3 separate regions of the Homo sapiens genome follow, and regions 1 and 3 are each linked to region 2. The links are contacts of gene promoters, found by promoter capture Hi-C in human tissues and cell types (Jung and others, 2019). All regions are on one chromosome and are shown on one strand. The core of a region is centred on a gene start or on the middle of the fragment in contact, and the rest is flanking DNA. Distances in the headings are between cores, read along the strand shown. Region 1 has its middle 12 kb from the start of PNPLA1. Region 2 holds the start of MAPK13 (mitogen-activated protein kinase 13). Region 3 overlaps BNIP5 (BCL2 interacting protein 5).

Region 1 (2,918 bases), core at 146-2,645, 130 kb before region 2:
GTCTTTCATTTCTTAAAAAAAAAATTTCAACTTTTATTTTAGATTTAGGTAGTACATATGCAGATTTGTTACCTGGGTACATTTTGTGATGCTGAGGTTTGGGGTACAACTGATCCTGTCACCCAGGTACTAAGCATAGTACTCAATAGTTTTTGAACTCTTGCCCTCCTCCCTCCCTCCCTAGTAGATCCCAGTGTCTACTGTTGCATCTTTATGTGCTTGAGTACCCACTGTTTAGCTCCCACTTATAAGTGAGAACATGCGGTATCTGGTTTTCTGTTCCTGAGTTAATTTGTGTAGGATAATGGCCTCTGGCAACATCCATGTTGCTGCAAAGGATGATTTCATTCTTTTTTATGGCTGTATAGTATTAATGTTCATTCTTATTAGGTTCTCACAGTGTTTTTTTTTTCTCCTGAAAAGCTTTTACTAAATCGATGTTGGATCTTGAAACTGATAGTATTTTATAATCAAGGAGATACAGTACATAAAAATGTGGGTGTGTGGAGAGGGACTGTACAGTGAAAACCATTGTGTGGTGGGATTGCGGGGATCTTTCTTTTTCAAAATAGTCTTTACTAGTATATTTACTTCACCTTTTCAGTATTTTTTTTCTTTAAACACAGTTTTAACTGCTTGCAGCAGATAATCGATGGTTTTGGAGGAGTTCCCCAGATAACCTGCAAAGCAATAACCCCATGAAAGTCACCAACTCCTCAGCTTAGTTTAGCTTAAATATAACTGACAAAGCCCTGAGCCCTAAATTTAGCTGTGGTTCCAAGGAAAGACCCTTTGTCTTTGGATTTTTCATGAGAAATCCACCTTCTAGGAACAGGTTGTGCAAAACTGAGATAATACTCCCTTGGTCACTAGGAGGGTCTGTTCCAGCAATTGGTTCAGACCTCAAGTTTTGGTCTGAACCATTGCTGTGGTTCACAACACAATGATGAGTTGGAAATGGTGATACAACCCAGAACCTGCTGGCCAGACTGCCATAGTGGGGCAGCACACTGAGCATTGTGACCAAAGGGTGGCCTTGAAACCCTGCTGCTTCCAGAAATTCAGACCAGTCCTGACAAATCTCTGTGGATAAAGGACTTCTAAATCAAATAAATACATTTAAGGAATATTGCAGGTGAGATTGGGATAAGCACTTGGAGAGCGACAATGCAAACCTTCATATTAAAGGCACTGAAAAGTTCTGTGTAGCAAGTTTTATTGGATTCTGGTCCCTTTCTTCCTGACTAAACAAATCCTAATTCTGTTTACCTTCTTCAGGGCAGCCAAGCCCTTCAGGACAAGAAGACCCCAGAACAAAGGAGTTTAAGAAAGAGCAGATGAAAACAATTCTGGTCCATAAGATAGAGAATAAACCTGCTGGGGAATTCTGAGAAAGATGTCTTTGCTCTTTAAAAAGACACTAACAAAAATTTTGCATTCAGTAGTGGCTGAGTACCTCCCATAGGACCACAAACCTCCCACATGACAAAATTATAAAAAACAACTATGAAAACTCTGGAGAGTGATCAAAAGGCATGGATATTGGAGGGGAGACAATACTTGGAAGAAGGGAATAGCAATGGATTTTTTAAAAAATTTTTTGTAGTTTGTTTGCTGAGGGAAGCCCCTAGTCAGGGATGTGTGGGGTGGTTAAAACTAGGATGTAAAGCTCACGCTTGTACTGGCGTGAAAAACCAGAGGACAGAGCTCTGGTGACTACACAGCTGGAAAGTGAGGAAGGAAATCCTGGAAAGGAGAAGAAGCCATAAATGAGTAGCCTCAAATTCTGTGTATAGACTCTGCTCAAATCTCTGAACCCCACATGTGCAGGACAGACTCCAAGCTGCATGGCTAAGGCTAAATTATCTAAACTAAGATTTCAGCTCCCAGCCAGATGCAGTGGCTCACACCTGTAATCCAGGCAGTTTGGGAGGCTGAGGCGGGAGGATTGCTTGATACCAGGAGTTCTAGACCAGCCTGGGCAATGTAGCAAAACCTCATCTCTACAAAAATAAAAATAAAATAAAGATTTCAGCTCCTATTCATCAGAGGGAAGAGCATTTTCAGTTTGAGAGTTCGGCCAATTTAACGGCTAGCTAAAACAAATAAACACAAACAGTAATACTTTTCAGAAGAACAAAAGAAATCCAGAGTTCCTACACTGTACACTCGCAATATTCAGGAGACAGTTCAAAGATGCTTGACATTAGAAGCAGGAAAATGTGACCCATACAAAAGAGAAAAAGGAATCAATGGAGACCAACCTTGAGACAACTCAGATGTAAAAACTAACAGACAAGAATTTTAAAGCAGCTATTATAACCATTTTCAAGAATGTAAATGAGAATATGCTCATAATGAATGAAAAGAAGGGAAACCTCAGCAGATAAACAAAAACTGTAAAAAGACCTCAGTGGGAATTCTAGCACTGAAAAATACAACATCTGAAAGAAAAAGACAAACAAGCAATAACCCATTTTTTTGCCTTTGGCCATCATCAGGATGTGATGTTTATTTTGCCACAGTCAACTTCTGGTCATAAGGATAGCCATCCTGAGGACAAGGCCTATGTGCTGTGCCATCTATGGCAGAGCAAGAAGACAGAAGGAATGTGGGTCTTTAATCATGTCTCTGAGCCGCTGGACTAATTAGAATTTCCCTGATGCCAAATGTCTTGTACTGGGAGAAAAATAAAATATCCTTATTTAAGCAATTTCTGTTTGGATTTTATGTTACTAACATGAGAAAGAAAGCGTTGTTGGGGCTCAGAAAATGATACCCTAAAATATGCTGTTTTGGACTTCAAACTGAGAGTACCTGGGGAGCAGCAAATGCAGGGAAGGGTTTTCTCTGAAGTTCTCCACCCAGAAGCTTCTCTGGAAGATATTAAATTGTTGTGAATCCCCTCCCCACATATT
Region 2 (3,254 bases), core at 37-2,536:
CAGAGCTCTTAGAACATAGGAAGTGCTCAATATGTGTATATTGCTATTGTTATCAGGGTCACGTGGACACAACGCTAACTAGGATTCTAGTCCCAGCTGGCCACAAGCTCTCAGACATGGAACCAATTACAAAGTTCCCCTGTGCCAATTTCCTCTGTAGGATAACACAGTCTGTACCTCACAAAGTGCATTCTGCCAAAAATACCCTTTGACCTCTTCCTGGAAAGTGGGCAGGGAAGGTCTCGGCACCCCCTCCTTTCAATAGTGAGGCGAGAGGCACCGTCAGGGGAGCAGGGAGGAGACTGTCCCGAGCTCTCCATACCGGGAGGCCCCGCCTGCGCCTGCCCCTGACTCCCCAGGGCAGCCCCCACCCCCTCCCCGGGGCAGCCACCACCTACGTTCTCATGCTGCATGTGCTTCAGCAGCAGCAGCTCCCGGTAGGCGCGCTTGGCGAAGATCTCGGACTGAAAGGGTCGGCTCAGCTTCTTGATGGCCACCTTCTCCCCTGACCGCTTGTCGATGGCCGAGCTGTCGGGCACAGGCCGGTCAGCAGGCGAGGCTCTCCTCCTGGGCCGTATCTCCCAGACCGCCCTGACCCCTCCCACTGGGCAGCTGGGCTGAGAGGGGACTAGGCCCACCACCTAGAATATGGGGGAGCCGCGGGACGCAGGGCAGGGAGTAGGAAGCCAGGCAGGAGCTGAGAGAGGGGCACAGCGCCAGGGGCAGCAACGTCTCATTGCGACGGGATCCACGGCAGGGCGGGAGTCTCACTCTGTCTGCAACTTGGCGAGCCACCTCCCCCTCTTGGGGCCTCGGTGTACTCGTCTGTAACAGTGAGGATCTGCCCGATGAACTCTGGGGTCTTGCAAGTGTACAGTCCTGGAGAACCAGGCCCAGTCCCAACTCAACCCCCAGAGACCTCACTCAGCCACTCGGTGAGAAAAGGGAGATGGCCGCTGGGTGGCCCCGGGGAGGGCGCTGGGCCTTGAGGTCCGCGGTCAAGGTGGCGCTGGCGAGGGGCCAGCCCAGGGCGGGCTGGGCGGAAAGGGGAGAGCCTGGCGCCCGCCCCCCGCCCCCCAGCGGCCCAGGGGTCTCACCACACGGAGCCATAGGCCCCGCTGCCGACGTGCGTCGGGGACACGTAGGTCTTGGGCAGCTCCCAGGCTGTCTTGTTGACGTCCTGCTTGTAGAAGCCCTTTTTCCGGATGAGGCTCATCCCGGGCACCCGATCTCGGCGGCCCCAGCGTGGCGGCTGCGTTCGCGGCCCAACGGGCTCCCAGCGCCCCGACCCCCGCTGCGCCCGCCCCGCGCCGCCCGCTCCTCCCCCGCGCGAGGGCGGGGGCCCCGGGCTGCTACGCTCCCACCTGCCGGCTCGCCCAGGTGCGCCGGGGCCGCCACGCCCGGGCCTGTCCAGCCCTGCGCTCCCGCGCTTCCGCCCGGCCCGACGGAGCCACTGCGGCAGGTGCGGCCCAGGCACGGGGTCGGGGCTGCCCAGCGGGACCCCGGTGCCTCCCAGCCGAGCGCGGGCCAGCGGCGGGGCTGGTGGGTCCAAGCAGGAGCGGGGAGGCAGTGCTTCCCAGTTCCCTCCAGCCCCGGTCTCCGTAGGAAGAGCTCCCTGTGACTGTGAACACACAGGAAAGCAGAACAAAACCCCACAACCTCTTCATTATGGAAAATGTCAAACATGCAGGAAAGAATTGAACAGAGTAAGCCAGCGCTTCTCACACTTCAGTGTGCTCAGGAATCCCCTGGGCATTTTATTTGATTAAAATACAGATCCTGACTCAGTAGGTTTGGGGTGGAGCCGAGATTCTGCATTTCTAGCCAGCTCCCAGGTCTGAGGCTTCTGAACCACATCTGATAGGAGGTTCTAATGAACCCCCGTGACCCCAATTCCCCAGCAACCACAACTCATAATCAATTTTATTTCATCCACATTCCTCTCCCACCATCGTTTTGAAGCAAAACCCAGGCGTCATATCATTTTATTCATAAATATTTTTGTATCTCTAAAACGTAAGGATTTTTAAAAGTACGTATCCACAATACTATATATATATATTTTTTGAGACTCTGTCGGAGTGCAGTTGCCATCTCGGCTCACTGCAACCTCCGCCTCCCGGGTTCAAGCAATTCTCTGCCTCCGCCTCCCGATTAGCTAGGATTGTAGGTGCCTGCCACCAAACCCGGCTAATTTTTGTATTTTTAATAGAGATGGGGTTTCACCATCTTGGCCAGGCTGGTCTTGAACTCCTGACCTCGTGAACCACCCGCCTCGGCCTCCGAAAGTGTTGGGATTACAGGCGTGAGCCACCGCGCCTGGCCCACAATACATTCTTAAACCTAAAATTAATAGCACTAATTCTATAATACCAAATATCCACGCAGGTTCAAATGTGCAGGATTTTTGTTTGTTTTTGACATGGAGTCTCACTCTATTGCCTAGGCTGGAGTGCAGTGGCGCCATCTCAGCTCACTGCAACCTCCGCCTCCCAGGTTCAAGCAATTCTCTTGCCTCAGCCTCCTGAGTAGCTGGGACTACAGGTGCACACCACCACTCCTAGCTAATTTTTGTATTTTTAGTAGAGACGGGGTTTCACCATGTTGGCCAGGCTGGTCTTCAACTCCTGACCTCAGGTGGTCCGCCCACCTCAGCCTCCCAAAGTGTTTGGATTACAGAAGTGAGCCACCGCACCTGGCCCAAATGTGCAGTTTTGAACACAGTTTCTGTGGACTTCCTAAGGCTCTATGAGGACAATGACTAATTGGGGCCCTTGCCACCTGTCTGGTGGCCTGTGCAGCCTGATGGAGATTCTTTGCTCAAACCACAAAGGCCTCTGAGGAGCAAGGTGGGCAGGTGGGGGGAGGAGATGGCTGCAAGGGCTCTGGATGCCCAGCCTGACTTGTCCAACCCCTCTCTTGCCCAGGCATGGGGCTGTGGAAGGGGCGGGGACCACCTGCTTCACTTTGTCAAAAAGAAGGTCTATTGAACAAGGAAAGAAATTTGCTAGGGGCTTACAGCAAGCCGGGGGCCCACACTAGGGAGTCTGCAGCCCCCAAACTCTGTGCCCCAAGCCCTCCCGGGCAGTCCTGCAGCCTCAGGCACAGCCTGGAAGATCATTCTGAGATGAGGGTGGGGTGCCATCATCACACAACAACACCTGCCATTATTTCAGTCAGGCAATCTGTCTTTTTCATTTCTGGCACATGGCAATATAACAGCAAATGTGTGGAGAATGAATGGAGGAGTCAGC
Region 3 (3,092 bases), core at 43-2,542, 190 kb before region 2:
GAGCTCTAGGCAACCCCAATAAGCCCTTGATGGAAATTATGTTCCGGGATTTCCCAACCGTCAACATTTCTTGGCCGCCTCAACTTCTGCACCCTGGCAGGGAGGGGAGTAGTGTGTGCAAGAAGGAGCTGGAGCAGGGGAGGCAGGAGACCTGGGTTCTAGCATATTGTCTATGTCATTCCCCATCTTTGTGCCTCAATTTCTTCACCTGTAAAGTGAGACATTTCCCTGCTGCATATCTATAACACGATCAGTCCTCACAGCCATCAGATGAAGTGCAACTATTATCCCCACAGCCATCACATGGAGTACAACTATTATCCCCACCTTACAGATGAAGGACCTGAGGCTTTGGGAGGTAAAACAATGTGTTCAAGGCCACATGGCCCATGGATGATGGGGCCAGAGCTAGAGGCGGAAAGGATCAGACAAGTCATTTCTTCCTGGGCATCAGGGAGAACAGGTCATCCTGTTAGGTCATCCTGGCCAGGAGAATTTACATCTTAGAAAGGAGGGAGTGACGCTTAACACCAAAGAGGGGAATTTCAGGCCCATGGGGAGATATTTTCATGCAGGGGGATTCTGGCTATGATTCATTAATTCATGCCATGGGACCAGGCCTCTACTCTTCAACTTGTGGATCAAGTCAAAATGGTGGAGGGAGGAGAGGGCAGCAAAGCCCAGGAAAGCCAGTTCTATGGAAGCACAAAGGGATAAGGGAACTCGGTCTGGGCCAGTAAATCAGAGGCACAGCCCTGCCCAGCAGCTGTCTTCCAGCCCCATAAGTCCTTAATGTGATCCAGCCACGGAGCCCACTTTTAGTTTGTGCTAGCTTCTGTGCATAGTTAACAGCCCCAGACAGACAAAACACACCCTCGTTCTCCTTCTGCTTCTCAGGCTTGGAAGAACCTAAAGTCCAGGAGGCCCCATCTACAGAGGCTGGGGCTCCAGGTCCCTCCGTGCTTCCCACCCCATCAGAGAGCCAGGAACCTGGAGAGGAGCTTCCGCTGGACAGAGCCTCGGAATACAGTCAGTACTCCTCTCTTTTTCTCAGACACCCCTTGCAAAACTTCTGTTCTGACTCCCCCACTTGCAAAGAGACACTGAGCCAGAGAGAGGCAGTGACCTGTCCAGACCTCCCTCTGAGTACAGCAGGCTGGGGAGGCAGCTTGGGGCCCAGAGCCCAGGCCCAAGCCAGGCTGCCTGTCTGAACCTCGATAAATGGCGATAGTGTTGGTGCTTACCCTGATGAGGCAGACAGGAGGCAAAGGGAGGAAAGTGCTGGCCCACACCAAGGGCTCGGCCAATGGGGTGATCTTATGGACCTTGGTTTGAGTCTGGGCTGTGACCCCTTTGAGCTGTGTGGACTTGGGCAAGTTACTTCATCTCTGGTCTCAGTTTCTTCATCTGTGAAATGGGGGCAGCAAGTACCTGCTTTCTAGAATTGTCGGCAGCATTTAGGGCAGCCCCTGTTAGTGGCTAATATGTGTTAGGTGCCATTTGTTGCTATTATTGTCATTGTTGGGTGGCCCAGCTTGAGAGCAGAGCTCAGAAGTAAAAAGGATAGGGACAGGGGTAGGGGCCTTGGGAGGGAAGCTCAGCTAATGGCAGCTGCCATCGCTGTAATTATTATTTTACCATTGGCAGAGCCAGGCCTAGAAACATATATATATATATATATATATATATATATATATATATATATATATATATATATATATATATATATATATATAATATCACCGTCAGGTCTGAAAAGACCTGGAAAGATCTCTGCCCCCTATCCCCTGCCATTCTGCCTTGTTTGCTTTTCATAGAAAATATGCCTTGAAGGGAAATTCTGCCTGGACAGGGAGAAGGTGCAGGATGAGGGCACCTGTAGGGAATGGGCCTTTCCAGATGGCCCTGAGGGGCCTCCTCCTGGGTGTCTATTTAGAGGCCGTCATTGGTAAAGTGAATATGTATCCCATGAAACCAGCTCTGCCCTCAGGCCACCTCTGGCAGCTCTTTAGCCCCCTTGGAGAATCACCCAGGGAGCCACCGGGGCATTAGGAAATGAAGACTGACCGCAGAAGAGATTTCGTAGCACCAAAGTTAACCATGCGTGTTGATCTTTTTCAGAAGAATTCATTCAGAAGATCATTTCCATGCTCCAAGATGCAGAAGAACAGCAAGGAGAGGAGGTGAGGAAGACGCTCCCCATGTAACCCTGACCTCACTGTGGGCTCCCCAACCCTGCCTGGTGTAACAACTTCCCTGTCTCTGCTGCTCTTCTGTGTCCTGCTCCAGTCCCTCCTTTTTTTTTTTTTTTGGAGACGGAGTCTTGCTCTGTCGCCCAGGCTAAAGCACAGTGGCTCGATCATGGCCCACTACAACCTCCACCTCCTGGGCTCCAGCGATTCTCCTGCCTCAGCCTCCTGAGTAGCTGGGACTACAGGCATGCGCCACCACACCCGGCTAATTTTTGTATTTTCAGTAGAGACAGGGTTTTACCATATTGGCCAGGCTGGTCTCGAACTCCTGACCCCTGGTGATCCACCTGCCTCAGCCTCCCAAAGTACTTGGATTATAGGTGTAAGCCACTGCACCCGGACCCAGTCCCTCCTTCTTGAAGCTTCCCCAGCCCCCTCCAGACCACACATATTTCCCCAGCACTGAGCATCAACCACTCTTCTCTGGGCAACGCCTGCTAGCCCACCGTGGCTCTCTTTCCCCACCTCACCTGAGATCTCCTCAAGGTCAGGGGCCCTGACTCAGTTTCTCTCATCTCCCCCACAGCAACCTCAAGTCCAGCAGGAAGAGGTGGGTGTAGAAAACCCGGCCCCACACTGCAGAAGGAAATCTCAAGAAAAAAGGTCGAGCTTCAGGAGAGCGTTTTACCATAAGAAACACACCTCCAAGGAACCCAGAAGAGCGGGGGCAGCAGGGGCTGCCAGCCCAGAGGCCCGACGACCCAAGAGGCCCAGCTTTCTGCCCCTGTGTGTTGGTGGCCATCGGCCCTCCACCTCCAGCAGCCTTGGTGAGCAGGCCTGGTGTTGCCATGGTAACAGAGGCTTCCTCTTGGGCAAGGCTGCTGTGTGGCCTGTCTGTCG

Evidence for each region. The method cuts DNA at HindIII sites, captures the fragments that hold promoters and counts their contacts. A contact is called where the count stands out against the background at its distance.
Region 1: a fragment that was not itself captured here is called in contact with the fragment with the promoter of MAPK13 in region 2 in 1 of the 25 tissues and cell types used here (mesenchymal stem cells).
Region 3: a fragment that was not itself captured here is called in contact with the fragment with the promoter of MAPK13 in region 2 in 1 of the 25 tissues and cell types used here (adrenal gland).

Annotation. Positions count from the first base shown.
Region 1 is chr6:36,257,095-36,260,012 of GRCh38, reverse strand. It overlaps a transcript of PNPLA1 not described here. Among named protein-coding and RNA genes, the nearest start is that of PNPLA1, 12 kb to the left of the region's middle. The HindIII fragment of the contact is 3,475 bases long and covers 1-2,918 here.
Region 2 is chr6:36,128,545-36,131,798 of GRCh38, reverse strand. MAPK13 (mitogen-activated protein kinase 13) reads right to left here and starts at 1,286. Exons shown (of 12, transcript NM_002754.5): 1 at 1,098-1,286; 2 at 399-528. The coding sequence starts at 1,216. RefSeq lists silencers at 281-390, 1,031-1,100, 1,141-1,390 and enhancers at 521-640, 532-1,135. The HindIII fragment of the contact is 28,110 bases long and covers 1-3,254 here.
Region 3 is chr6:36,323,220-36,326,311 of GRCh38, reverse strand. BNIP5 (BCL2 interacting protein 5) reads left to right here. Exons shown (of 12, transcript NM_001010903.5): 6 at 898-1,029; 7 at 2,122-2,183; 8 at 2,779-3,019. Among named protein-coding and RNA genes, the nearest start is that of BNIP5, 12 kb to the left of the region's middle. The HindIII fragment of the contact is 8,343 bases long and covers 1-3,092 here.